Linked DNA regions of Homo sapiens: all the other regions are linked to region 6. Evidence: promoter capture Hi-C in 16 types of primary human blood cells and fetal thymus (Javierre and others, 2016). All regions are on one chromosome and are shown on one strand. The core of a region is centred on a gene start or on the middle of the fragment in contact, and the rest is flanking DNA. Distances in the headings are between cores, read along the strand shown.

Region 1 (4,077 bases), core at 881-3,380, 490 kb after region 6:
ACATTTTTTTTTCTTTGGTCTGAGAAAATATTTTTTCTACGCTTTTGTTTCAGGTTCAGGGGTATATGTGCAGGTTTGTTAAGTGGGTAAATTGTGTGTTGCTGAGGTTTGGTGTACGAATGATCCCGTGGCGTAAGTAGTGAGCCTAGTACCCAATAGGTATCCTTCCAACCCACGCCCCCCTCTTACTTCCCCCTCAAGCAGACCCCAGTGTCTATTGTTTCCATCTTTGTGTCCCTGTGTATTCAATGTTTAGCTCACACTTATAAAGTGAGAACAGGCAATGTTTGGTTTTCTGTTTCTGTGTTAGTTCCCTTACAATAATGACGTCTAGCTGCATCCATTGATCTATTCTTTTTTTAAAGTTTTTAAGTTGCAGACATGCTGTCATATCACCTCTAAATACTCCAGTGGGTATTCCCCCTAAACAAGGCCTCTCTTCCACATAACCGCAACACAACCACTCAAACTAGGAAGTAAGCATTGGTACTGTGCTACCATACAATCCATGGACCCCATCAAAGTACCACCAGCTGTCTCAACAATGTCTTTTTCTCTTCTGGTTGGAATCCAATCCAGGAGTACAAGTTTTATTCTGTTGTCATATTTCTACTCTCCTTCATTCTGGACCATTTCCTCCATCTTGTCCTGTCTTCATGCCCTTGACAGTTTAAAAGAGTAGGGGCCTTTCATTCTGTAGTATGTCCCTCGACCTGGGGTTGTCCACTATTTGCTCATGTCCAGACCCCAGCCATGCCTTCATGGAGGGGCTCCATATAAATGATGCTGGGCTCTTCTCAGTGCATCACATCAGGAAGTACATGAGGTTGATCTGCCCCACCACTGGTGATGTTAACCTTAATCGCCTGGTCAAGGTGGTGGTGTCAGGTTTTTTCACCATAAATTGATAAATATTTTGTGGGCCAGGCACGGTGGCTCATGCCTGTAATCCCAGCACTTTGGGAGGCTGAGGCGGGCGGATCACGAGGTCAGGAGATTGAGACCATCCTGGCTAACATGGTGAAACCCTGTCTCTATTAAAAAATATTAAAAAATTAGACGGGCGCGGTGGCGGGTGCCTGTAGTCCCAGCTACTCAGGAGGCTGAGGCAGGAGAATGGTGTGAACCCGGAAGGCGGAGCTTGCAGTGAGCCTAGATCTGTGCCACTGCACTCCAGCCTGGGCAACAGAGCAAGACTCCGTCTCAAAAAATAAAAATAAAAAAAAATTTTGTGAGGAGATACTCCTTCTCATCCATTGTTGACTCCTACCTGAATCAACCAGCACTACAATTAGAGGCAAATGATTGGCATTCTACTGTGAAAAAGAGCTTTCCCTTCTTCCCATTTATTTATTCATTTTGTATTTATGTCAGCATGGGCTCATGAATTTCTATTTTAGTCACAGGATATAATTTATTTACATCATTATGTTAATGCTCAAATTGTCTCAGATTTGGCTTATGGGAGGCCCTCTAAGCTGGCTCCTCTGTCCTTTTCATATGACTCCCTCATTCTTTGTGCACTTTCTCACTTGTCCCAGGAAGGCTCTTCTTGAATTTTCCCAGCCCCAGCCCAGGGATCAGTCTATTCTTCTTTTAGTGGAAGGTAGGATTTAGAAACCAAGATCTGTGTGCTTGCTTGCTCATTCCTTTTGGGATGTCATTGCTTCTAAGCCCTTTTTGCAGATATGACACATATGTAGGTAAGTACACATGCATGTATTATATTATAATAATGCATATAATATCCTCTAATATAATATAATGCATATAATAACTATATCTGTGTATCTAAGTACATATATATTTAAAACCATGAGTTCACACTAATACCTCCAACTCCAACCCAACACCTCAGGTTCCCTCTAGTTTCTCTGCTTTCCTTTTTTGTAACTCCTCACCCCATATCTGCTTTTGTAACTCCCTTCTCCAACAATGAGAAGCTTGACTCACATTATCCTCAGTGTAATTACTTATTTGCTCAATCCCTGTACCTAACCAATTTTCTAACCACATCAGCCACCTCTTAGGCCCCACCCTTCTTCAGCTCCCACTCTGACATTGCCTCCCAGGAAAGGTCAAAGGAAAGAAGGGGACACACCAAATGTTTGACTGAGGTTCCTTGAGCATGGCCTGGGAATGGGGAAGTGTGACTGCACATCACATCCTCTATATAGCTTATTTCACAATAAACACGGGCCACTTCTGTAATTTAAAATATATTTTTAAGTAGGAAAATACTTTGTTTGCGCTAAGTTCATTTGGTGTTGTCTGCTGGCAGGCAGATGGAAAGCAACAAGGGCCAAAAGTGTGGGAAAAAGCTTAAAATGGAGATAGCTTACCCATTTACTTAACTTTCCTTGAAAGCATCATAAAGGACATCATTGATATTATTCTATTTTATTGCCAAACCTTGCAGTGAACAAGGTGGTGTACATTAGGAACCCATTGTGAGCACACCAGATTTGATTCCTTCATACCTGTGTTCTTCCATAAACTCCAACTCTTAACTTTCTGGCCTCTGGTCTGTTAGATTCATACGTTATGTCATTGTTCTCAGGGAAAGCAATCATGTGAACTGATTTAAGCTAAAGTGTTACACCTGATGGTGACTTAGGGCTGATACCTTGCCATACACCCAATAATACAATGGCCTAATGAACAAAAAGTTTCACTATCCTCTAACAGTGTGAAAGGTTTAGGTCAGCTCTGCTCCTCAAGGTCACTTGGGGACTTAGGTTCCTTCCAAATTATTGTTCTTCCATCCCTTAGGGTCAACTCCCCTACAGCATTGTCATCATTGGCATGGCTGAGGCTCGGTAGCCACCGTATCTGGGTTCCAGGAGAAGGGCACGGAAGAGATCTTAAGGCCTGACCAGAGGTGGCACATAGGATTCAACTCACATGCCATTGGCAGGAATTCACACATGGCTACACACGGATGCAAGAAAGGGTGGGGGAATGTAGTCTGACTGGGGAGCCATGTGCCTGGCTACAATTCTGTTCAATGGGGAGAACGCATTTGGTTGACAACAGGAGTCTCTGTCCTAGTGCCCCTCTTCTGTGCTCCAGTAGTGCCCATAAGCCTCTGCGAGATCATTTATTTCTCTTATTTTGGCTCCTTGAAGGAGGATCACTGGCCACAGCATCTCCAGCACCTACGGAGTGCTGGCTTGGCACACAGTAGACATGCAATAAACATTTGTTGAATGAGTGAGAAGGCAAATGAATGAATGATGCTTGCAATGAAGTAAAAAAGCTACTTTGACATGGGTAAAATAAGAACCTGCTTATTCAGGTAAAATCTTTCACGTTTTGCCATAGCTGCTTGACCCTATAATATATATTTGTGAATAAATAAATAGATGAATGAAAAAGCTTACCTAAGTTTACATAGAAAGTAGGAAGATCTCTCTGCCATGGAAAATTGAAGGATAAGTGTCCTCTTAGATGCTGGTGATATACTATGGTTGATATACACAGTACTGGCTCAGTTGCATTCATCCTATACTGCTCTATGGGTCTAGTAGGGAGTTTCCTGTTCCAGGCTGCCTGAAGTATGTGAACATCTTTAGGTCCCAGAATGCATTGCTCTCCTTGTGTTTGCTATTCCTGCTTATTGCTCTTCCTTTGTGGGACCAGACCTCTTGGGATGCAACTGATAACATCCTCTCTTTACTGCTTTTTTGTTTCCTGAGTCCTAAATACCTTGTAGTCCAGTACAATGCCAGCCGAATGGAGTCCACCCTTGGAGTAAGGATGGGGACACACAGCTATCTCAAAACACAATGCCTTGAAGAAAGGGGATCCCTGTCTAGTTTGCTGATTGATACAGACACTAGGTCTCTGAGTCAATGGTGCAAAAAGCAGGATAAGGCTAAAGGACCTTTTACCAATTTCTTATTGTTGCTCTGTTTCAAAAAGCAAGACATGTGCTTGCTTCAAATCATGTTTCTGACCTCAGCTCCATGACTATTACAGGTAGTCGGTAAAATTTCTCTGGCAATTGAGTTACTACCTGTCTTGGTTTCTGCTGCTGCTGTCAGTTTTGCCTTTTTCTGTGTGTTATTATGTATT
Region 2 (3,750 bases), core at 122-2,621, 470 kb after region 6:
GACCATATCACTATTTGGCTACAAACATGCACTATTTAAGCAAAGGAAAGAAATGACCCCAAAGGCAACTCAGAGATCAGGGTGGCCACTCAGTGTGTGTGTGTATGTTTTGGAGGAGGGGGCACAGGCAGGAGAAGAGCTGAGTTCCTCCTCAGTTTCCGAGGGAAGGTCACCCTGCCAAGCCACAAGGATGACACTGCATCAAAGCAAAGAGGATTTATTCTTGAGGCTTAAGATATAATGGAATTTGCCTCAATAGGTTTTGGACTTGCTTGGGACCCATTAACACTTTGTTTCCTATTTTTCCTTTTTGGAATAGGAATGTCAATCCTACACCTGTCTCACCATTGTGCTTGGGACGCACATAACTTGTCTGGTTTCAGAGGTTCACAGCTGGAGAAAGATAGGAATCATAGCTCAAGTCTCACCCATACCTGATTTAGAAGATATTTAAATGAGACTTTGTACTTTAAAGTGAGAATGAGTTTAGATTCTGGGGGCTGCTGGGGTGGAATGCATATATTTTGCATGTGATAAAATGAATTTGGGGGAAGGGCTAGGGACAGAATGCTATGAACAGCATATGTTCACCCAAAATTCATATATTGAGAGCCTAACCCCCAATAAGGCTGTATTTGGAGACAGGGTCTCTAGGAGATATTAAGATTACATGAAGTCATCAGGATGGAGCCCTAATCCAATAGGATTGGTGCCCTTATAAGAAGAAGGGAAACCAAAGCTAGCTATCTCTCTGCCATATGAGGACACAGTGACAAGGCAGTCATCTGCAAGCCAGGAAGAAAGCCCTCATCAGAAACTGAACAATGCCAGACCATAATCTTGGACTTTCCAGCCTCTAGAACTATAAGAAATAAATCTCCGTTGTTAAGCCACCCAGTCTATGGTATTTGTTAAGGCAGGCTAAGCTAATTATACTTTCTGTACCTTGGTTTTCCCATCTGTGAAATGGGGATACTTATGCCATTATCTTACGCTTGTTGTAAGAACAAGTTAACACATGGAAAGCATAGAGAACAGAATCCAGCATATAATAAGTACTATGTCTTTGTGAGCAATGGTTATAAAGACGAAGTCTTTGTGCTCAAGGTGTTTGGCTGTCTACCTTGCACAAAAGGTGCCATTTGGCCTTAGCTGGGTATCTAGAAACCCTTGAAAACTCTCACTCCCCTTGGCCAATGTTTACAACTCTTTTAGCTTAAGTCTTCATTTCTATTAAGGTTAATTTCTATTGGAAGGGTAACAGTCACTTATTTCTCAAAGCAATGAAAAAAAGATGTAGGTCCCCAGAGGATGACAGTGAGTTGGAAGCAAAGGATGAAGCCCCTGAAGCCTATTTCTTCAAAGCATGAAGTTAAGGAGAAGGCAGAGTGGAGTAAACTTGAGAGAGGCAAGGCTATTTAAAAGGGTAATTGTTAAACTCGGAATTACTACAAAACTTCTTTTTTAAAAAAGAGACTCCCACGGGGCACAGTGGCTCATTCCTGTAATCCCAGCACTTTGGGAGGCTGAGGTGGTTGAATCACCTGAGGTCGGGAGTTCGAGACCAGCCTGACCAACGTGGAGAAGCCCTGTCTCTACTAAAAATACAAAAATTAGCTGGGCGTGGTGGCGCATGCCTGTAATCCCAGCTACTCAGGAGGCTGAGGCAGGAGAATCACTTGAACCCAGGAGGCGGAGGTTGCAGTGAGCCGAGATCACACCGTGCCACTCCAGCCTGGGTGATAAGAGTGAAACTCTATCTCAAAAAAAAAAAAAAAAGAGAGACTCCAAAACTTTCAAGACTGCATTTATTTGTCTCTAGAAGGTAACCCTGGGCCTTTTCATTTTTCATACTTGTGGAAGTCTGAAACAGAGAAAACATTCCATTATAAATAGTTAAAAATAAGAACCGTTTACAAAAGAAATAAAGAAATATGCAAAAAATTAATTTTATTAGTAATCAAAGATGTTTAAATTTAAAGATACTACTTTTTTACCCATTAAGATTCCTTCTTTTAATAGAGCTCATTGCTAAGAATGTGATGGAATTAGCACTCTTATTATACAGCCAGTGGTGTTATAAATTGGCACTATGCATCAGGTTATAGAATGACCTACCTGTGACTCAGCAGTTCTACTTCTGGGAATCTATCCTGCAAAAACAATACAAAATACAGAAAGGGCTAAACACATCGGTTATTTGTCACGTTTAAGAGAACAAAAAACTGAGAACATAGTGGCCAACAGTAAAAAAATTGTCCCACCTAATGGGTCACATAAACATGCCAGTGATAGAAAAATCAAGAACAGGCACACAATGTTATGTACCTGATGATAATTTTTTATTTTAGTTGCAAAGGAAAAGAAATGGGAAGGATTTTAGTGTATTTCCATCAGTGGTTTTACTAACGTGGCAAGATCATTTTGTCTCTGCTCAATTTTCTGAAACTCTCAACTTGAAGAAAAAATAAACCCATGACTGAAAAATAAAGCCGCTCAAGTCATGGTCAGGCATTTTGGATACTGAAACCTATTATGTACATCACTGTGGATGGTAAAGCACCGCAATCAAATGCTTTAACTTAGCCTTAAACATTTATCTATTTTCTAGTCCACCCTCCTTTACATTTCAAAGTTGAGTTTTGTTAGAACGAAAGTGGTTAAAAAGGACTTAACACTATCACCCACATCCCCCCCAACCCCAACACTTCACTGACTTGCAGGTATTGGGCAAGTTACTTCTGTTCCTTAGTTTCCTCACATGTAAAATGGATATAATTGTTTGTATAGCACAGGGTGGTTGTGAAAATTAAATAGGTTAATATGTATACACTGCCAGGAGCAGTCTCTGACACAAAATATGTATGAGTAGCTTTTTTTTTCTAATCTTGATCGAGTCTTTCCACTATACAAGTGATCAACATTTCTTTCTTTTTATAGTTCAGACCTAGCTTTGGAAGCTTTATTTTTAAAATAAATTTTAATTTTTTTCATATTTAGAATTTTTTATACTTGAGACAAATTCATATAAATTTACCTGAAGGATTAAAGGATGACAATATTCTGCCTATAGTCTACTGCATTTTAGAACATTTATTTTAGTTTGTTTTTAAGAATTAGCTGGAAAATTTCAGAAACGTAATATTTAAGTATGAGAATAGAAAAACTTGCCAAAGTTTATAAATGTTGTCTTTATTGTCACAGCTCATTAAAAATTGGCTGTTGGTCTCATCTAAGCCAAAGAGTTTAAGGTCCAAGAAGAGGGTAGTCTGGAGAATAGAAACCCAGTTTGCTGCTTAATATCTTTAAGAAGGCAGGCACACTCCAATTGTTGGCAGTGTGGCTGCAGAATTTGACGTATTATCCAATGTACATTCCTCCACCCACTGAGCCAGGCTTGGTGAGGGAGATGGGGTAAACAGAAATCCTTGCTCACTCAGCTTTAGAGTTCAGTCCCTGTTCCTATGATAATCTGAAAAGCAAGGCTCTTTCCAAAATCCCAGAGAACCACAAGCATAGGCACCATCACAGCACCAGCCCCTAAATCCCCAAAGTATAGAGAGCACAGTAAAATCCCAGGGCTATAAATGCAGTCGCCGGAGCAGCTTTTCCTCTGAGCCACTGTGCCTTTAGACCAGGGCAGAAAATCCCAACACCTTACCAGGTGAAATATGCTACTCTGGTGCAGGAAGGAGTGGGGAGGACTGGGACAAACCAGAAGGCACCCACCCCATTAAATGGGAAACAACT
Region 3 (3,622 bases), core at 552-3,051, 380 kb before region 6:
GGTATGAAGGCACTTTAAGAAAGATGTTAATACTGACTTGTAATATGCAATGGTGTAAAACCAATTAAGCTGTGTTGCATTTTGTTACAATATTTTTTTAATTTTGTTTAGAAGAATTTTGAGGCCTTTCAGTTAATTTTTCTGGAAAAGCATCATCCATTTTTGCTTTTATTATTGTCCACTAATGATTTGAGAGGAATTGTCCAAGTTACTTATTGAGGCTTAATACCTTAACACTTTGTTTTTTTCCTTAGTTTCACAGGAAGGTTGTAGGGGATGTTCACTAGTGGGGATAAGAAAATGAGATGTTGAAGTGGCTTGGTCCCAAAAGGTGATTAGGAAAGAAAAATAATAGTAGTTAAGAATCTTAAGCCAAGAAATGGATTCTTTCTAGTATCTTCTCTTTAATAATCAGTACTATGCCAAAAAAAAAAAAATAAAGGCTACAAATCCTTCTGTTAATGGGTTGGTTTGCTTTCCATGGTTAGAGACGGGATTATCACAGTTGTCCATACACCTGACTGATAGTGAGTTAGTGTAATATATTCAGTGGTGTAAGGATTTCTGAGAGACCATGATTAAACCTAGAGGTAGCACCAGCCAAACGTGTGAGGCAAGAGCAGGCAGTTTTCTTTCAGTGTGATCATTTCCTTCATGACTCATTTGGAATAGCTCCTTTTCTGAGGAACAAGCAATCATAATGGAGAAAGCAGCTTGACCCCATGGTTTGAATCGGCTTTATATCCTCAGCCATGTATGGTCAGAATTTTGAACTGAGGTAAAGGATAGGGAGAGATTACTGCTGGTTTACATAACCCTTGGATAACAGTTTATTCTTGTTCTTACAGGTTGAAATGCTGTGCTTTTTGCTTGTAGAGTCTAGGGAAGTACTTTTCCTTGGACAATAAAAGATAAGATTTTGCCACATAGGAAACTTCTTGGGAACTGAAAATGCAGATCTTATTCACGTTTCTCTAGTTGCTTATTAAAACAACAAAAATGAAAATGAAATTGTGAATATCAATTGTTTTTGAAATTATCCATAGAACTGCTGGAATATGGGAAGATGGAAGTTTCTTTCCTACTGATTTTTGAAGTCAATTACTAATTATTTAGAATTGAAATCTAGAACTTCTTAAAAGTGTGTTTTGTTCAATGAGTAAAGCAAGCTTTGGCACTCACGTGAAAGAGGAAGTTCAGGACTTGCCACCCAGTTGTTTTATAAGACAGTGGCTAGAGTGACCTGACATGAGGAGTGTTTTTGAACCCAAGAATTTTTCCTGGTTATCTCAGATACGCCGTAATTTGGCTTAGTTTTTTTTTATTAGAGTGTATTTTTAAATGGTGAAATTTGACCTTTATCAGTGATTCCAGAGTTATCCATTGTTTTCCATAATCACATGGAAAATAGTTTTGACACAAGGTATCAGTGTGTTCTTACAGTGCTTTAATTAAAAACGTAAATGTTTACCCATCAATGGAGGTGGCTGGCAGTCTCGGAACTGATCATTTTTGAAAGGGCTGCTTTTTATTAATAACTCAGTTTCAGTAAACTAGATGCACTTCAGTAATGCTCTAGCCATTAAGTACAAGTCCCCCTTTAAAAAGCACCATGTGTTTAACACTCGAGTAATCAAATAAAATCTGTAGTTTTAAAAATTTTGTTCAAATTTTGGAAGAAGTTGTGCTTCCTATGGAGTTTGTTTAAAAGTTTATTTTGGGGATTCAGAATTTTGCATAAGTATATAACTCTATTTATTAGTTTATATATTTTCAAAGAATCCAGAAATATTTTGGTAAGAATTTCCTGTGTGCTGTTATTTTCTACTCTCTTCTCAACCTATTCACTTTCCTCTCCTCCACCTACAAGGGGTGGTCCTTGTCTACAGTTAAAGAGGGTAATCTCAACCAACTGTTGGCATATACTTTCATCCATTTTATTTTATTTATTTATTTATTTTTAGACAGTCTCGCTCTGTTGCCTAAGCTAGAATGCAGTGGCACCATCTCGACTTACTACAACCTCTACCTCCTGGGTTCAAGTGATTCTCCTGCCTCAGCCTCCCGAGTAGCTGGGATTACAGGCGTATGTGACCATGCCTGGCTAATTTTTGTATTTTTAGTAAAGACGGGGTTTCGCCAGGTTAGCCAGGCTGGTCTCGAACTCCTGACCTCAAGTGATCCACCCACCTCAGCCTCCCAAAGTGCTGGGATCCCACTATGCCCATCTACTTTCATCCATTTAAAAAAATCTGTCAGGCTTTGAACTTACTAGTCCCGGTTAAAGTTAAAATGCCACGTGCTTTAGAGCCAAAGGTTTGCAGTATATGCCAGATTCTTGTTAACTATAGTATCCTGTTGGCCATTGAAGGCAATAAACCTTCAGAACAATGTGACTGGAGAATGCTGAGGGATAACCAAGTGAATCAGTGTAAAGCTTTTATTTCTTTTTAATTGAGATGGGCTCTTGCTGTGTTGCCCACACTGGTCTCCAACTCCTGAGCTCAAGCAATTCTCCTGCCTCAGCCTCCCAAAGTGCTGAGATTACAGGTCTGAGCCACCATGCCTGACCATTTTAAAGTTTTGTTTTGTTTTGTTTTGTTTTGTTTTGTTTTGTTTTGTTTTTGAGATGGAGTCTCCCTCTGTCGCTAGGCTGGAGTGCAGTGGCACGATCTCAGCTCACTGCAACCTCCAACTCCCTCGTTCAAGGGAGTAGCTGGGATTACAGGCACGCGCCACCACGCCCGGCTAATTTTTGTATTTTAGTAGAGACAGGGTTTCACCATGTTGGCCAGGATGGTCTCAATTTCCTGACCTCATGATCCGCCTGCCTCGGCCTCCCAAAGTGTTGGGCTTACAGATGTGAACCACTGCGCCTAGCCTGAAACTTTTAAGTTAACCAATTTTGGATTGGTTTGAATACATGAGGTCCATATATTGTTTACCTAGAAAACAAATATTCTAAACTTAAAATACTGTCATTTTCTCATTTATTTTTTCTTCGTGAATAAAAATTGATTCCTAAGATCCCTGTGAAAGAGAAGTTTAATGCTAGGTTGGAAATTTCTCATTTCAAGACAACCTCCTCACTTCCGCTGCCATCCCCCCACATTCACTCTCCTTACCCCCATTCTCTGATGAGTGAACTTGATGTTGGTGCCCCTGATGTAAATGAGTGGCTGAGCACTCTTGAGGTGGTATTCCTCCATGATTGCTGTGAGAATTTATTTCCTAAGCCCAGTAAGGTGCTGATTATGGCCCCACAGAATTCATGAGCTGAACCAGGGAGTAAACTCCTGAGCTGGTTAAATTCTAGAGAATTTTCATAGAAAGGTCAAGCAAGATTCAGCTCCTTTATAATACTGGTAGCTTCTTCCAAATTTATAACTGGTTAGGAAGGGGTTGTGTGAGGAGGACACTAAAGGGGCCACATTGACTTCTTATGACTTTATGGTAACTTGTCCATAAAGTCTTAGGCCAGACCTTGTCTTTAAGGTCAGCCATAAATACACTAATCATATGGTTTCATATCCATCACACCTTTCATCCAAGGCTCTCTAATCAGTTTTACAGCTGTTACCTCATTGGTCCATACTTGTTCAGTAAATAATTCGTAATTATT
Region 4 (3,663 bases), core at 980-3,479, 340 kb before region 6:
TCCCTTTGAGTTTCAGATTCCCAGCCCTGCTGCACTCCAGAAAAAGAAACAGAAATTTGGAAGCAAATACGAGATGGACCCCTAAAAGAGATGCACACCCCATTCCCAGATCTGGGAATGTCCTCCCCTCCATCAGGTCATCTAGTTTCAGGCTCTGTTCCAAGTCCCTCCAAGAAGAAGCTGACCTCCCACCGCCGGGACCCTGCCTTGCCACAGCCTCCCCCGTCCTCCAGCATGCCCTTGGGCTGCCCCACACAGGTCAACACTTGTCTCCTGGCCCTGCTTTCTGCCTCCAAGTTCTCGCTCCTGGACAGCTGTAAGAACCTATTTGCCCAGCAGACACTTTCCTGTTTGTTTATCATAACCATAATTTCCCAATCCCCAATCAAGACATCTCACATAAAACTTTAGGGTCACTTTTGGGTATAGAGGCAATTTGTATGCTAAAATACTACAGATTGAAATAAGTAGAGGAATTATGACGATTCAAAATAATGAGAGCAATTCTGGAGGGAATAAGTCAAAATATTTTATGCTGAGACTGTCTTAGAAAATCCAAGACCTGTCATCCCTGTGTATATGTTCTTATACCTCCAGCTAGGCACTCAGTAGACATGTGAATCTCCCTTGTCTTTGATGCTGACTCCCTCTCACATTCCTCTCATCCTCAATCAACACATTACATGGTTTTTCCATGAATCAATCTTTATTGGTGTTTGCAGCAATTGAATTATTGGCATAAGGCACAATGGGCTTCAAAGCAAATGACAGAAAGAAAATACGATTGTACAGGTGGAAAGGCTCTTCAGGGAGGTGTCCCAGAGCAACTGTGACCCTCACAAAGACCCTGCAGCTAGGACCCAGCCCAACTAAGACAGGCTTTGAGGACCTGAGAGTGACCAAGCCATACCTCAGGGAATCTGAAGGGGTCCCACAGTTCTTTCAAAGACAAGCATTTCTAGCTTCCTTGGGAGCTCTTCCAGCCTTTGAGTCTTTGTCATCAACAGCAGCTTGATGACCATGGGGACCCTGTCCCTCTAAGCCAGCCTGCTCTCCCTCACCTGTGCCTGTTCAGTGGAAGCCTCCCCTACCAGGGGCAGATTAAGGCCCCTGCAGAGGGAGGCAAAGGGGAGAGAAGAGCAAGAGTTGATAAGCAGACTGGCCAAGCCCAGTGACCCCCATGAGGATATGCAACCCCCCCCACAGCGGTGGGTCTTCCCACCAATATTTAGGAGGTTAAAGAAAAGGTGGCTTCTCAGTGGGATAGCTCCTGCCGCCCTTCTTCTGAGGAGGGGTCCTCCTCTATGAGCTCCAGGTCAAACTCATCTTCCAGGGACCCTCCCACAGGCAGAAGGCGAAACTTCTTCCCTTTCAGGGTGCATGTGCGGTGCTCAAAGTCCAGGATAGCATTGTGGTCCTGGAGCACATCAGTGCCAATGATGGCTTCCTCGGCACTCGCATTGGCCACTAGGAACTGTGCCTTCAGCTTCAGCTTGCCTAGGGACACCGCTGTATCCCAGACACCCAGGATCTTCATTTCAGCACCATTGGCCACCTTTACCACATTCTCAAAGGGCTGCAGGGTGTCCAGATCGCCATCAGTGACCTCCTCCCACAAGTTTGGGTGGACCACAGAGACCTGGGCCCCAGAGTCCACCAGGAACCTCACGGGCACTTTGCCAATCTTCCCCTTGAGATAGTAGCCCTTACCCATGCTGTTGGCAAAGACGATCTCTTTGGGCAGGTGGCTGGGGGCAGCCCCAGGGACCCCAAAGGCCTTCAGGAGGGCCTCTTTCACAGTCCCATAGTCTCCCTGGTCCTGGGGACTGAGCCTATTGTAGACACCCAGGGCCTCTCCTCTGAGGGACTCTTTCAGGAACCTTAGCTTGGTGATATGGTCCCAATGGTTGAGGTCATTGATGACTTCAAAGCTGTGCAGCCAGAGGTTTGGGACGACATTGGCCCCATCAAAAGGTTCCGGGACGAAGGCATGCTGCCGGCGGCCTTCCTCACTCCTGGCTCCGCTCCCGGCCATCCTGCTGCTCTCCTCTGGAACCTCAGCAGCAACCCACGCCAAGAAGAGAAACCCACAGAGCAGTGTCGGCGCAATCACGCTGGAAAACGGGGCCTCTCGAAGCAGAGTGGGGATGACTTGCCCGGCCTTGGGCAAGCAGGAGGGAGCAGGCGCGGTCGGCTGGCTGACTGCTGGGGCAGAGGCAGGCAGTGCTGTGGCCTGTTCACTCTGCAGAGCCTTTTTGATGCCTAGGCTGGCCCCTGGGCTCCCCATTCTCCTTTGTTCTGGAAGCTCCGCCCCTCCTCACCCCGCCCTCCTGCCAGCATCCGGCCGGACTAGCAGGATGGGTGCCTCACCCTCTGCATCCATCCTTGGACCAACACCAGCCAGCCCACATCCCAAGAAAGGCCAGCCTCTGTTGAAGGGGGACTACCCTGTACCCTCCCTGGCCTGTGTTCCAGAATAACAGATGAGGACACGGAGGATGTGATGACATTCAGGTATTTGTCATCAGCCAGTGAAGGAAGGGGAGGCAGGGACCAGACGCCCATCAGCTCAGAGACCGGGGAAGCCGCCATTGGCCTCCCCAACAAGTGACTACTTTGAGTGGTCAAAGGAAAACAGTTTACATGTACTGAGCTCCTACCACATGCCAGGCACTGGGAAGTGTCTCACACACATTCTAAAGCAGGTATGGGATCCTATGGGATTTCCTGGAGAGGGAGGCAGAGGAGGGTTCCAGCATAAAGAATGCACAGAAATGGTCTTTTTTAAGTGAGTGAGGACACACACACACACACACACACACACACACACGTGCACAATCATCTTACATGGACTCAACTGCTGCAGTAATTTTCCTTCATTGATCACCCCTGATTCAGAGGCAGAGGGGTGGCCAAGCAACTCTGGGTAGGCCCCATACTGCACTCCATGAGCATTGTCTCCACCCTATCCACCCCTCTCCATTTCCAGGAACTGTTCCAGGGCCCCTTCCCCAGGCACTGCAGCACTTCCTCTCCCACTCCCCAAGCTGGTCATTTGTGGAAAGATCACGGGAAATTTCACTCCCTTTTCATTCTGAGAGGGAAAATGTCCACTATGTTGGTGATGCCAGTGGTGAGGACCTGGAGGGCTCTGGCTCTGTGCCCCTCGCTGCAGGGGTAAAGGGTAGCACGGGAGGACATCCAGTCGTCTACAGAGGACATCTGTGAGTCCAAGGGCTGGAGGCCTGACTTGGGGCTGTGCAGGGGCTGTTGAAGGGATCCACTTTTATGTCCCCATTCAAAGGTCACTCCATGGAGCCTTCTGCCTGTCCCTAGAAAGGGCACCCACTCCTCGTTGAGCGTGTTTTACGGTGTGATCTGGTGGTTTGTTCACAAGTCTGCCTCTTGCTATGAACCAGAGTCTGGGGCTCACAAACCTGGCATTTGTGATTGTCTCCAGCCCCCAGAACAACTTCCTCTGGGACCCAGGGGCTCTTTGCTGGGCTCCAGGCCTAGCTGTGTGCTGTCACCAAACAGGAGTGATTAAGGATGGGAGAGGAGGAAGACTCGATGGCACACCTGTGGCTCTGGGGCTGTTTTTCCTGGCCAAGAGCCTGTCCCTCTTCAGCTCCCTATGCCATGCATCACCCAGTGCCTGGCGGA
Region 5 (4,065 bases), core at 511-3,010, 410 kb before region 6:
TTTTTGTTTGAGACGGAGTCCCACTCTGTCGCCCAGGCTGGAGTGCAGTGGCGCAGTCTCAGCTCACTGCAACCTCAACCTCCCAGGTTCAAGCAATTCTCCTGCCTCAGCCTCCCAAGTAGCTGGGATTACAAGCATGCGTCACCACGCCTGGCTATCATTAGTGGTGTGTTTCTCCAATGATGTCCCTAAATCTTCTTCCCTGGGGTCTGCACCTCCCTTGAACCTCCCCATTCTACACCTAGTGCATGCTTTGCCAGGGTAATTCCAAAGGCATCTGGGGGTTGGGGCTGTTGGTAGAAATCCTAGATGTCATGGCTGGATCTTTCCTGGAAGTTTGGGTTGGGACAGGTATTAAACAGGCCACTCTGAATGTATAAATCTAATTAAAAATTTATGTGATTGGTGGGCATTTTTTCCAACCTAATAAAGTCCCTTTCCATCCCCCAGCTCTTTGTATTTTAAAAGCCAGGTCACTAGACTTGATAATTCTAGAGAGAGCTGACTGAAAAGAGTTGGTTTGATTAGAAACAGAGGTTCAACACTTTTACACTGTTGGTGGGAATGTAAATTAGCTCAACCATTGTGGAAGACAATGTGGTGTTTCCTCAAAGACCTAAAACCAGAAATACCATTTGACCCAGCAATCCCATTACTGGGTATATACCCAAAGGAATATAAATAATTTTATTACGAAGATACTTGCACGCATATGTTCACTGCAGTACTATTCACAATAGCGAAGACATAGAATCAACCCAAATGCCCATCAATGATAGACTGGATTAAAAAAATGTGGTACGTATACACCATGGAATACTACACAGCCATAAAAAGGAACGAGATAATGTCCTTTGCAGGGACATGGATGGAACTAGAAGCCATTATCTTCAGCAAACTAACACAGAAACAGAAAACCAAACATTGCATGTTCTCACTTATAAGTAGGAGCTGAACAATGAGAACACATGGGCACAGGGAGAGGAACAACACACACTGGGGCCTGTAGGGGGAGGAGCTGGGGAGAGGGAGAGCATTGGGAAGAATAGCTTAATAGATGCAAGGCTTAATGGGTTGATAGGTGTAGCGAACCACCATGGCACACATTTACCTATGTAACAAAACTGCACATCCTGCAAATGTACCCTGGAACAAAATAAAATAAAATAAGAAATAGAGGTTTGAGTCTTTCCTGGTAAGCATATTTATGCTCTACCACAGACGGTTCAGCCTTGGGGCAAGACAGTCTTTCTCCTAATTTTTGTAGTTTTGAACATTCTAAAGTTTTTGTTGTTGTTGTTGTTGTTTTCCCTGAGGACAGAGGCAACTTTGGGGAAGTACTTTGTCGGGTAGGATGGAATCTGGGGCCTTTAGTTTTCCTTCCAAGAGCCCATAGGAGGTTTTGGGTGCCTTCTCAATGCTGGCATGAGAAAATATAAAGCAGATGGACAGTGAACTTTGGTATATTCACTCCTTATGAATGTTATGTGGAAAAGTGGAAGAACATAAGCTGTTTGTCTATGCTATGTTTACAATTGGTTTGCTCTATTTTGTGCATGTGGACAAAAATGGGGGAAAAATGAAAGCTGTGTTAGGATAATGGGTATACGGCTGAATTTTCCAGGAATTTCTATAATAACACCAAATCGCATGTTTTAATGCCCACCGTGAACAAAGAAGACCGGAACCCTCGCAACTCGTTTTGACGTTTTCTGGTCGGCGGTAAAAGCTCGGTTCCCGGCCCTCCCGGAAGTTGTTGCACAGTTGTTTCCGGGAAGCGGGACTCCAAATGGGTCGCAGTCGCAGCCGCTCTCCACGGAGGGGTGAGTCCTGTAGCAATTCGGAGGATATGGGGCTCTGTTGGAGGCCTGTCCCTTTTGTTTTATTTTGTTTTGTTTTTGGTAGCCGCGTAGCAGAGAGGCGGGCCCTTTTCCCAGGCGGAGAGCGAGGGGTGGATAAAGGAACGTAGACCTGGGCCCTGCCCTCTTCAGCCCGCCCTCTCCGGTTTGAAGGCAGTTGTTTGTCTCTGAATTAGTTTCATTAAGTCTTTGTCACCTTCATACAATAACTTTTATTACACTGTGGCCGGTGGGTTTAGAATTAGACCTCAGTTCCTTTGCTGAATTTCTGGGCGACGGTGGGCAAGTCACTACTCAGCCTTTCTGAATCGAATTCCCAGAATGAGTCATTGAGGGTAGTATTGCCAACTTTTAAAAACTGATGTGAGAATTAATGTCACATCCCATAACATACAGTATGTGATTCTGCCTGGTTCTTAAATACTTAATAAATGTTAGATTCCTGCCCAGGTCATTACAGGGAAATCGATATTAAGAATTTTGAGTCCTGGGAGCTCACTTCGTAATGTTTTCTGGCTACCAGCCCCATAAATGAGGCAGCGCGACGTAAAGAACCCTGGACTTCCATTAGGAGATCTAACTTAGACCCTCGGTTCTGCCCCTGATTCGTTTTTTTTTTAAATCAATTTATTTATTTTTAATGAGACAGAGTCTCGCTCTGTCGCCCGCCCAGGCTGGAGTGCAGTGGCCGATCTCAGCTCACTGCAACCTCCACCTCCTGGGTTCAAGCGATTCTCATGCCTCAGCCTTCCGAGTAGCTGGGATTACCCGTCCGTGCCACCACGCCTGGCTAATTTTTGTATTTTTATTAGAGACGGGGTTTCGCCGCGTTGGCCAGGCTGGTCTCGAACTCCTGACCTTGTGATCCGCCCGCCAGCCTCACAAAGTGCTGGGATTACAGGCGTGAGCCACCGCTCCCAGCCTCTTTTTACCTTTTTAATGTGACTAGTAATGGTTTGCATTATTTTTCTACTGGACGGCGCAGCTCTAGATATTTGAGGTAATTATCAGTTCTGCAATTTGTGTGCGTTTGCATTAGAACGTAGGCGTTCCCGGTCCACATCCCGGGAGAGAGAACGCAGGCGCCGAGAAAGGTCCAGGTCTCGGGAGAGAGATCGGAGAAGGAGCCGCTCGCGATCCCCGCACCGAAGACGCTCCCGGTAAGGGCAGAAAATAAGCCAAGAGTTTTATTTACCGAAAGTCCCTAAGAAACTGGTCGCAGCTCTTAACTTTGTTTTCATCGCTTATAAGGGGATTTACGGTTTCCTGAAATGGAGGAAACTTAATCCAACCTTATTCTAAAGCTAACATTCACCTTGGTTAAATGGTGCTAATAGTACTCTACATCACAAAGTTGTCTTGAAAGAGTAAGTAAGAAATAATGCATGCAAACCCCAGAGCATGGTGCTTGGCAAGAAAAAGAAATAAGTATTTTATATTTTTGTTTCTTTCTTCCGTTCCTTTCCTTTCCTTTTCTTTTCCTTTTCCTTTCTTTTCCTCTTTTTTGAGACGGAGTCTCGCTCTGTCACCCAGGCTGGAGTGCAGCGGCGCAATCTGCTCACTGCAACCTCCGCCTCCCCTGCAATCTCTGCCTCCCCTGGTTCAAGCAATTCTGCTGCTGAGCCTCCCAAGTAGCTGGGACTACAGGCACATGCCACCACACCCAGCTAATTTTTTTTGTATTTTTAGTAGAGACGGGGTTTCAACGTGTTAGCCAGGATGGTCTTGATCTCCTGACCTCGTGATCCACCCACCTCGGCCTCCCAAAGTGCTGGGATTACAGGCGTGAGCCACTGCACCCGGCCTGTTGTTTCTTTTTTATTAACTTTTTGGTGATAATGATTTATTCAAGTATGTAATCAAGAATGGATGATCTTGGAAGAACATTAGAAATGGGCTCTGAGTCTTTTTTTTGGTTTGTTTTTTTTTTTTTTGAGAGAGAGGGTCTCCCTGTGTTGCCCAGGCTGGTCTTGAATTCCTAGGCTCAAGCAATCCTCCTGCCTCTGCTTTCCAAAGTGCTGGAATTAGTAGCGTGAGCCACCAAGCCCCACCTGGCTCTGAGTCTTAATAACCATCAATTGCTGTTTAAGTCAGCTTTTTTGTATATTTGTGTGTGGTTGTTAGAAACTTTTAATTTACATTTTTCTGCCTTCCAGAAAGCTTTCTAGCCCTAGTTGTACTGAATGCAACTGATGATTAAGCAGTA
Region 6 (3,715 bases), core at 168-2,667:
TTCAACTTAAGGCACTCGACCGCCAAGACTTTTTCCAAAATTTCAAACCCTGTGAAAACTGGTTGGCCATCAGTATCACAACTGTTAACAGAACCAAGACACTAAAGCCAAGAGTTTTGAACAAATGCTTGTCATCTCCTGCAAAAGTCTGTATCAAGGACTACAGTGCTCTGTCTAGGATATTTCTCACCTGGAACTTCTCCAGCTCACTGGTGACCAAAGCCTGGGCTTGAGCCAGAGGCACATGGCAGCGCTCGATGCACTGGTGCACCTGCTTCATGGAGGCCTGGCTGTCCTCACAACAGCTGGCGCTGCACCGGAACATGAGACCCTGGGGAGAAAGGGCAGAGAGGTTAGGTAGGAAAGTCTCTGGGGACAGAGATGACTATGGAGCACTACAGGAGTTAGAAGGCCACGTGGATATTTGCACCTCTCTCTCCACCTTCTGCTTTCACCTTCCCTGAGAATAGACACCAGGACCTTAAAACCACCACTGGGGAAAATTATCCTCAATGTCTAGTGTAGTGTTTCATGGTGTCCTTGCTGCTAGCTCATCGGCACCTGTTGCACCGATGGTTGGGTGAACAGAGGTTCGCCCGAGTGGGTGAGGGTAGGGTGGTCTGACGAAGCCAAATTCTGAAAACCAGGAGCCTCTTCCATGGGGTTCAGAGGTCAGCAACCTAGCAATACAAATTCCACCAGAGGGCAGCCGACCCACTAATCAATGACTCAAGGGGCACTATCTGGGAAACGCATACTCCGTGAGAGAAGCAGGACCGAAACACACAGAGGCATTGCGGGGCTCAGAGAAGAACAGTGTAGAAACCCGCGCTGTGTGAAGCGAGGTTGGGCGCAAGAGAAGCAGGCATGACCTGGCCAACGGGGAGGCCGGAAGTCCTCGCCTTTCTGGTCTTTCACGTTGGCAGCGCCTCTGCTGGGCCTCGGGCCGCTCACCTGCGGAAGGGGCCGCGTAAGAGGGGAAGGTGGTGGGGCGAGCGCCTGCCACCAGGGGCTTCCCACCTGCCGCCGAGGACGCTCCTGCCCCGGGCTGGAAGGGGCGGAAAACAGCCTCGCGCACGGCAAGGGCACACGGATTTCATCCGATCCGCCAAAGCTTCCGAAGTCCTGTCCGAGGCCGCCCCGGCGACCCCAGGGCCGCCCACACCCGGTCTGCGGGGACGCGGCTGCAGTGCAAGGCGTCGCGTGGTGGCTGAGGGAAGGGCCCGGAACCCACCCGCTGAGAAGGGGGTCCTGGTTCGGCCCCAGCCCCGCTACCTGCATCTTCCGGATGTTCTCTCTTTCCAGACTCTTCACCATGGACTCCACCGCCTCCTGCACCCGGAGCTGCTGCAGCTCAGCCATGGCGACCCCGCGCTGCCCCGCGGCGCTCCGCGCCGGCGCCCATATGGAATCGGCGTACGGGCCCGCCCCCTCACCGCCCTTCGCCGCCCTTCGCCGCCTGCCCTTCCAGGGCCCACGCCCCCCCCTGGCGGCCGAACGGAGCCACTGCATGCTGGTGTCCGCGAGCCCACCGCCCTCCTCCCGCTTGGGAACCGGTCACTGGGACACCTGCCCTGCGGCTGCTGCCTGCCTTTCCTCCTCCCTCCCATGTCCCTCCCTTTACATTCTTTAAAATTATTTAATGTAATTTACATACAGATAAATGCCCAGATCTTAGGCGTGCTGCTTGATGAGTTTTAACAAACCCTGTCCGCCGGGCGCAGTGGCTTACGCCTGTAATCCCAGCACTTTGGGAGGCCGTGGGCAGGTGGATGACCTGAGCTCAGGAATTTGAGACCAGCCTGGCCAACCTGGCGAAACCCCGTCCCTACTAAAAATACAAAAATTAGCCGGGTGTGGTGGCACATGCCTGTAGTCCCAGCTATTTGGGAGGCTGAGGCAGGAGAATTGCTTGAACCCGGGAGGGAGAGGTTGCAGTGAGCCGAAATCACGCCATTGCACTCCAGCCTGGACGACAGAGTGAGACTCTGTCTCTAAACAACAATAAAAACCCAAACTCTGTCTTGTCCCAATCTCCGTCCTTTCTACCCCATCTCCCCACCCCTGCCCTAACTGGTCTGCTTCTGTCACTGTAGATTACATTTTCTCTTTCTAGAATGTCATATGTATGTTATTATCCAATAAGTACTCCTTTTCTGTCTGGCTTTTTTAGCATATTGCTGAAAAATACTTAGCCTAATGCTTTCGAGATTGAGCTGTGTTGTTGGTTCTTTTTTGCTGCTGAGTAGTATTCTATTGAATGGACATACCACATTTGTCGTTGTTGTTTTTTGAGACAGGGTCTTACTCTGTCACCCAGGCTGGAGTGCAGTGATGTGGTCTCGGCTCATGCAGCCTCCACCTCCCTGGTTCAAGTGATTCTCATGCCTCAGCCTCCCGAGTAGCTGGGATTACAGGCATGTGCCACCACGTCTGGCTAATTTTTTTTTTTTTTTTGTAGACACGGGGTTTCACCATGTTAGCCAAGCTGGTCTCCAACTCCTGAGCTCAAGGGATCCACACACCTCGGCCTCCCAAAGTGCTGAGATTGCAGGCATGAGGCATCGGTCCCGGCCCACATTTGTTGATCCATTCCCCTGCTGATGGGTGTTTGGGTCTTTTCCACTTAGTAGCTATTATGAATAAAGTGGTGACTATGAACATCCTTGACCATTTTTTTTTTCTTTTGGAGATGGGATCTTGCTATGTTGTCCAGGCTGGTCTCAAACTCCAGGCCTCAAGCTATCCTCCTGCCTCTGCCTATCAAAGGGATTACGGGTATGCACCACCACCCAGTCCTGGACCAAGTCTTTTGTAGACACAGATTTTCTTTTCTTTTGGGTAAATATCTAGAAATGGGATTGTTGGATCACAGGGTAGATGTATGTTTATGCATTTATTTCTCATAAAAAATGAACTTCAGAGACAAAGCAGGGGCTACAGATCATCAATGAAGCAGTCATCAATGAAGCACTTACATGCCAGCAACATGAAACTGTTTCTGAATTCCTGGAGCAGTTTTTTTTTTGGAATGCCTCACTGTCCCACCCATAACAGTACTGTCGTGTGCATTCATTTATCGAATACATTAGCTAGGGGTGCGGGTCCAGAGGGGAGTGTCAGTGGAGAAGGGAAACACACTCCGTGGAGAAGGGGAAGGGGCAGTGTTGGAAGAGGTGTGCTGGAGGAGGTGGTCCAGGCTGGCAAGGAGGGAGTGAGCCATCCGGGTTCCTCAGGAAAGTTTTCTTAGAGGAGATAAGGCTTGAATTGAGGCTTTGAATTGAATTGAAATGAGTGGGTGTTTGCTTGGCATATGGGGCTGAAGAGAAAGCCATGTCAGGCATGGGGGTGCAAGGTGGGGGTGGGGGAGGAACAAAGGAATGGGGCCGTCATTAGAATTTAACGATTTTCTGCCATTGGGCGCTAGATGGCAGGAGAACTCTAGTTTAGGGCAGTGGGGAGTTTGACTCAACCCAAGCTTCTTTGAAGAAAGCTATGTTTTGATTGGGCACGGTGGCTCACGCCTGTAATCCCAGCACTTTGGGGAGCTGAGGCAGGTGGATCACCTGAGGTCAGGAGTTCAGGAGTTTGAGACCAGCCTGGCCAACATGGTGAAACCCCATCTCTACTAAAAGCACAAAAATTAGCCGGGCGTGGTGGCAGGCACTTGTAGTCTTGGCTACTTTGGGAGGCTGAGACAGGAGAATCGCTTGAA

The links. The method cuts DNA at HindIII sites, captures the fragments that hold promoters and counts their contacts. A CHiCAGO score of 5 or more calls a contact.
Region 1: a fragment that was not itself captured here is called in contact with the fragment with the promoter of FAM136A in region 6 in 1 of 17 cell types (M2 macrophages); the score reaches 5.2 in M2 macrophages.
Region 2: a contact is called between a fragment that was not itself captured here and the fragment with the promoter of FAM136A in region 6, in 3 of 17 cell types (M2 macrophages, M0 macrophages and M1 macrophages). The highest score is 10.1, in M2 macrophages.
Region 3: a fragment that was not itself captured here is called in contact with the fragment with the promoter of FAM136A in region 6 in 1 of 17 cell types (non-activated CD4 T cells); the score reaches 5.4 in non-activated CD4 T cells.
Region 4: a contact is called between the fragment with the promoter of ASPRV1 here and the fragment with the promoter of FAM136A in region 6, in 1 of 17 cell types (total CD4 T cells). The highest score is 5.3, in total CD4 T cells.
Region 5: the fragment with the promoter of SNRNP27 here is called in contact with the fragment with the promoter of FAM136A in region 6 in 4 of 17 cell types (neutrophils, total CD4 T cells, non-activated CD4 T cells and 1 more); the score reaches 7.6 in neutrophils.

The regions. Positions count from the first base shown.
Region 1 is chr2:70,791,516-70,795,592 of GRCh38, forward strand. No RefSeq gene overlaps it. Among named protein-coding and RNA genes, the nearest start is that of FIGLA, 2.9 kb to the left of the region's middle. The HindIII fragment of the contact is 378 bases long and covers 1,942-2,319 here.
Region 2 is chr2:70,775,519-70,779,268 of GRCh38, forward strand. It overlaps FIGLA (folliculogenesis specific bHLH transcription factor), which reads right to left. Exons shown (of 5, transcript NM_001004311.3): 4 at 2,119-2,153; 5 at 1,792-1,864. The coding sequence ends at 1,849. Among named protein-coding and RNA genes, the nearest start is that of ADD2, 9.2 kb to the left of the region's middle. The HindIII fragment of the contact is 3,173 bases long and covers 1-2,958 here.
Region 3 is chr2:69,917,404-69,921,025 of GRCh38, forward strand. All of the region lies in intron 2 of MXD1 (MAX dimerization protein 1), which reads left to right. Among named protein-coding and RNA genes, the nearest start is that of MXD1, 4.1 kb to the left of the region's middle. The HindIII fragment of the contact is 1,268 bases long and covers 1,168-2,435 here.
Region 4 is chr2:69,959,402-69,963,064 of GRCh38, forward strand. It overlaps ASPRV1 (aspartic peptidase retroviral like 1), which reads right to left and starts at 2,230. Exons shown (of 1, transcript NM_152792.4): 1 at 688-2,230. The coding sequence starts at 2,035. The coding sequence ends at 1,256. PCBP1-AS1 (PCBP1 antisense RNA 1) reads right to left here. Exons shown (of 11, transcript NR_033872.1): 11 at 2,862-3,663. RefSeq lists a silencer at 2,116-2,410. The HindIII fragment of the contact is 12,271 bases long and covers 1-3,663 here.
Region 5 is chr2:69,892,196-69,896,260 of GRCh38, forward strand. SNRNP27 (small nuclear ribonucleoprotein U4/U6.U5 subunit 27) reads left to right here and starts at 1,761. Exons shown (of 6, transcript NM_006857.3): 1 at 1,761-1,823; 2 at 2,899-3,019. The coding sequence starts at 1,790. RefSeq lists enhancers at 1,386-2,321, 2,064-2,123, 2,322-3,256. The HindIII fragment of the contact is 14,817 bases long and covers 1-4,017 here.
Region 6 is chr2:70,300,650-70,304,364 of GRCh38, forward strand. It overlaps FAM136A (family with sequence similarity 136 member A), which reads right to left and starts at 1,418. Exons shown (of 3, transcript NM_001329752.2): 1 at 955-1,418; 2 at 191-331. The coding sequence starts at 1,362. RefSeq lists enhancers at 1-703, 704-1,652 and silencers at 1,338-1,607, 3,411-3,540. The HindIII fragment of the contact is 2,364 bases long and covers 1,113-3,476 here.